Regions from separate parts of the Homo sapiens genome. Here region 2 is linked to region 1. Evidence: promoter capture Hi-C in 16 types of primary human blood cells and fetal thymus (Javierre and others, 2016). All regions are on one chromosome and are shown on one strand. The core of a region is centred on a gene start or on the middle of the fragment in contact, and the rest is flanking DNA. Distances in the headings are between cores, read along the strand shown.

Region 1 (2,700 bases), core at 22-2,521:
TAATCTCTACCAAGTGAAAGCACAATTTCTAGGATACCCGGGACCCCTTTAAAGAGGGTGTAAATCCATTAGCAACTCCTCCCTAAAAATAGAGACCCGGCCTAGTCACCGCAGCTCTAGGCTGAGCTAGATCCTATCAACACAAATCGGGCCTCCTCCGTCCTCCCCAGGGCCGGGCGTTCCCGCGTCTCCTTCCTAAATACGTCCAGCCCTGATAAGGCCCGTCCTGAAGTCCACACTGCCCGCAAGCCGGTCTACTTAAAAGCCTGCCCATACGAAGAGCAAAAAATGCACTGACCATTGAAAAAAGAATTTATAACATGAAAAAAGAATTTATAACATACCACATCCGGCAGGGTCTCCGTTTCCGTTTCAAAGGGAGGGAAACAGAAAAACATGATTAAAGTAATAATTAGAAATAGGCCCGGTTTAGGGCGTGGGAGGGTGACCGTGGCTCTTTCTTCCCTGCCCACTTTTTCTGTTTTCCGAATTCTCCACCGCCGCAGATGGACAATTTGGTAAGCACACGTTTCTTTCTGCGCCCCGTGTTGCTTGGCGCACAGCACGCGCTGAAATTCCCGGAGCCCGCATCCACAGAGTATTTTTGAACATTTTCAGGGCTCAAAGTTTTTTTCTAACTTTTCCTTCCCTTCCCCCCACCACCCGGGTCTCAGGCTCCTAGCGATTCCAAATTTAGGCCCGGGACGCAGGGCGTGGCTGTGACAGGCAACTCCAGGGCGGCCTCCGCGCGCGGCCTGAAGACGCAGGTCCCCAAACCCTGGGGGTAGATAACGGGGTGGGGTGAGGGGCTCATGCAAAGGGAGAGAGATCTGTAAGAAGGTCCCCTAGATTGGGAAAAATCGGACGCACCTCTCCCAAGGCCGCCCCACATGTAAGAGTTTGCAACTCCGACAACAAACGCTGACTTTTCTCTCTGGAACGGCTCCAGGAAAAGCGTTGGGGAGAAAGTGGGCGCCTCCTCCGGGCCTGGGCCCCCGTGGGCACAGCGCGTCCTGCCGGGCAGGGAGGAGGCTCCGGGTGTCCCCGCGGGGCGCCCCCAACGCCGCATCTCAAGCGGATCCCCAGTCCCGGCCCGCGCCCTCCGCGTCCCCCAACCCGGATCCCTCCGCTCGCTCACCCGGGGCGGCGACCAGAACACCCAGCAGGCCGAAGAGCAGCAGCGCCAGCGCAGCCCCGCGGGCCATGGTGCGCCCAGAGCGCGCAGGGACGGTCCCGGAGTGCAGGGCGTGGGCGAAGGCGGCAGGACAGATACTCCCCCACGGGCCGGGTGGGGCGAAGCCCGGGGACTCGAAGGGGGCGGGTGAGGGGAGCGGCCCTGCAAGCTCAGCGCCGGCTGCGCCCGCCCCGCCCCGGCCTCCACGCGCGCACAGAAGGGGCGGGAACGCCGGGCCCGGGGAGGAGACAGAGGGGGTAGGCGGGCGGGGGTGGCCCAGGCAGCGCCGAGGGGAGTACGGTACACGCCCCGCCCCTTCTCAGGAAACTGCCCACGCCCCCTCACCCACCCACAGGGCCGTAGCCAGGGCGGCGCCGACCCGAAGCAAAGTGAACTACAACGTTCTCGGGAAAGTGCGGGTCCCTCCCGGTTTACAGCCCTCTGAATGCACGCCCGAGGGCGGCCCTTAACTGTAGTGGCACAAAACTGCCGCCCTTCTTGGAAACATAGAGCCCCCTCTCCCCACTCGCCCCTGCAGCCACTTCTCCGCCCCTCACCCCCTGGTCTCCAGTGGGAGCAAAAAAACAAACTTTCCCAGCAGCTCCCCTGCTCGGGAAAGTGCGGGTCCCTCCCTGTCTACAGCCTCCTAAATGCACGCCTGCAACTGTAGCGACACGAAACTGCCGCCCTTCTTGGAAACGTGTAGCCCCCCTCCCCACTCGCCCCTGCAGCCCCTTCTCCGCCCCTAGCAGGGACCCTCCCCTGCTCTGCAGTGGGAGCAGAGGAAACTCCCGGCTCCCCTGCTGGGAAAAGTATGGGGGCCCCTCCCCGCTGCTCACCTCAGGGAGTTCCCCAAGGGGAGCAAAGTGCAATCCTCTCCCTGCTCAGGAAGCCTAGGCCCCCGCTCCACAGGCAACCCCCGTCCCAAGTCCTTTCTAGAGCGTCCGAGCGCGGGGTGCGCAGCCGGGAGGGTGGCGGACGAACCCTTTGCGCCGGACCAAGGACAACCCTTGGAGTAGCCTCTGCGCTGGGGCAGTTTCTCCCCAGAATCCCCAGGACAAGGTTGGGAGTGGGGACTCCTGGTCACGGGAGTTAGTGAGGGGCAATAGGGAACGAGGTGCCTTCTATCTGGGGCACCTGGGCCCTAGTCCTGGTCATGGGCGACTCGCCTTCCAGTGGGCTTTGAGTTTAGACACCCTCCCGCGCCACTGGCCACAGCTGCAGTGCAGTTGTCGCCCTTCCCACACTTAACAATGTTATCTGTTAACACCTAAGCCTAAAATTGTATCCATTTTCCCGCAGGGTAGTGGAACAACTTTGCAGCCTGACAAATAACCCTGAATATTCTTGCATTCCACACTTCAAACTGTCCACGAAAAGAGTCAAACTAGGCCGGGCGCGGTGGCTCACGCCTGGAATCCCAGCGCTTTGGGAGACCGAGGCGGGTGGATCACCTGAGGTCAGGAATTGGAGACCAGCCTGACCAACAAGGTGAAACCCTGTCTCTTCTAAAATACAAAATTAGA
Region 2 (2,700 bases), core at 8-2,507, 130 kb before region 1:
AAGTAGATGAAGAAAATCTAGCCTCACAAAGATACATAGTTAGAAAAAGTATTTTAGTAATCTTTTCAAATAACTGTGAATGTTCTCCTTTGATGACAAAACTTGATCATCAATAGCTTCTCAAAGATAAGGTAGTGTGGAATCTGAAATCCTATCACTGAATTTTTAAAGTCTACACATTTAAAACCCACAGGTTTATCTTAAGCTTCAGACAAACCTTTTATCCATTCATGATTCTGCCACTTCACACATGGGTCATTTGTAGAATATTGGTTCATTGAGTTATGGAGGTCTTCCAGATGTTTTATTTCATAATATGTATATTTTTTAAAAACACACACATTTGTTAATATCCCTATCCATCTCATCCCAAAAGTCTTTAGCTAGAATACCAAAAGAAAATATCTCCTCTTTAATATTATTAAAGTTGTGGCCTGAACGAGGGCTTCATTCATTCATTTTCCCGTGTGTTTAATAAGTCTTTAGGGCCAGGCGTGGTGGCTCAAGTCTGTAATCCCAGCAATTTGGGAGGCCAAGGTGGGAAAATCACTAGAGCCCAGGAGTTCGAGACCAGCCTGGGAAGCACAGTGAGACCCCGTCTCTACAAAAACAATAAATAAATTAGCCAGGCATGGTAGGACATGCCTGTTGTGCCAGCTACACAGGAAGCTGAGGTGACAAGATCGTTGGAGCCCAGGAGTTTGAGGCTGCAGTGAACCAGGATCACACTGCAGCGCTCCAGCCTGGGCGGCAGAGCAAGACATTGTCTCAATAAATAAATAAATAAGTCTTTAATGAGCATCTACTACATGCCAGTCATGTTTCTGGAAACTGGGGACAAATCCATGCCTTTGTAGCAGTTGCATTCTAGTGGGGATGGAGCCGGGAGAGAAACAATAAAAGGTGATACGTTATCATATGTTGGAAGTTGATAAGAGATAGACAGAAAAGATTAGAACAGAGGATGTGGGTGAGGAAGTGCTCGTAGTGGGTGGGGACCTGCGATTGAAATGATCTCACCTCCCTGCGGCCTCCCTTTGGTCTGCAGCCTCCCTTTGGTCTACAGCCAATGGTGGACAGTGTCAGATTTTGCCCCCAGCCTTCCCACCAGCTCTGCTATGGGATCAAACATTCTATGCTTGTTAGGTCCAAGCACTGTTTTCACTTTTGGTTGGGGAAAAATTGGCAGCTTCTCTTTCCGTATGTCATGTCTACATCCCAGCTATTCATAAACAAGCAGTCATGTTTCATGAATACCTGTCTAGCAAGGGGCAGATGAATAGGACGGGGAGCAGGGAGGAGACAGCTGTGAAGCAAAAACGTGACAATGGCTGGCAGGAACCCAGGGAATGCATTGCATTTATATTTGGAACTATGGGGGAAGATGCAGCTTAGATGGAGGCCATTCCAAGTCACCCAAGTGCTCAATGTTCAGAACCAGAATAGCACGTGGCGTGAAACTCTCTCATGGGCTGAGACTGGACAAGCTAGTTCCATTCTCTGACAAGTCTGGTCTTCCGGACTCGGCCCCTGGAAAGCTGCCTTTCTTCCTCATTACCCCTTCTCCTCTCCCCTTACCATGGGATCTTGTGAGCCTTTCTTCAACAGACACAGGCTCCTCCCTGCAGCTTTGTATGAAGTTCATAACTGGGCTCAGATCAAAGTTGTGGTGGAAGCCTTTAGAATTCTGAAGGAAGCAGAAAAGGCATTGAATGACACCCCCAAGACCAACTTTTATGTTTAATGAAAAAAATGTTGCAGCCAGTGGTAACATTTTTTTGAATGTACAATTTAGAAATGTCCACTGGGTGTCGCATGGCCCTGCTGGGAAACTAAATGCTACAAGATAGTGAAGCGTACACACTTTTTACCGTGATAAGCTAGTTTCATAGCTATGCACAAACTGACCATCGCTGAACTAATAACTGAGCACTATTTGAGAGACTATCTTTGTACACCTCTCAAATTCTGCAGTTACTGTTTTGACTTTTAAGTACCAGTCCCTGACGGGCACATGGTAGGGGTTATAATACACTATACCTCTCCAGTCATCCCTGGAACTCTAATTCTATCTTTATAAACAACTCATTATCACTGACATCCTTTTTTTTTGACAGGGTCTTGCTCTGTCACCTGGGCTTCAGTGCAATTGTGCAATCAGAGCTCACTGCTGCTTCAACCTCCCAGGCTCAAGCAATTCTCCTGTCTCAGCCTCCGAAGTAGCTAGGACCATAGGCATGTACTACCACGCCCAGCTAATTTTTTAATTTTTTTGTAGAGACAGAGTCTCGATATGTCGCCAAGCTTGGTCTCAAACTCCAAGGCTCAAGTGCTCAAGTGATCCACCCACCTCGACCTCCCAAAGTGCTGGGATTACAGGTATGAGCCACCACATCCAACCAACATCCATTTTTATGTGTACATGTGTAAAGTATGTAAATTATTTTAAAAGGCTGGGCGCAGTGGCTCACGCCTGTAATCCCAGCACTTTGGGAGGCTGAGGCGGGCAGATCACCTGAGGTCAGGAGTTCAAGACCAGCCTGGCCAACATGGCAAAACCCCGTCTCTACTAAAAATACAAAAATTAGCTGGGCATGATGGTGGGTGCCTGTAATCCCAGCTGCTCAGGAGGCTGAGGCAGGGAGAATCGCCTGAACCCGGGAGGCGGAGGTTGCAGTGAGCCGAGGTCGTGCCACTGCA

Evidence for each region. Contacts are between HindIII fragments. The CHiCAGO score rates a contact against its expected background, and 5 or more counts as called.
Region 2: a fragment that was not itself captured here is called in contact with the fragment with the promoter of CD99 in region 1 in 3 of 17 cell types (fetal thymus, endothelial precursors and megakaryocytes); the score reaches 7.4 in fetal thymus.

Annotation. Positions count from the first base shown.
Region 1 is chrX:2,689,866-2,692,565 of GRCh38, reverse strand. It overlaps CD99 (CD99 molecule (Xg blood group)), which reads right to left and starts at 1,271. Exons shown (of 10, transcript NM_002414.5): 1 at 1,139-1,271. The coding sequence starts at 1,205. The HindIII fragment of the contact is 9,076 bases long and covers 1-2,700 here.
Region 2 is chrX:2,818,839-2,821,538 of GRCh38, reverse strand. No RefSeq gene overlaps it. Among named protein-coding and RNA genes, the nearest start is that of GYG2, 8.7 kb to the left of the region's middle. The HindIII fragment of the contact is 2,099 bases long and covers 208-2,306 here.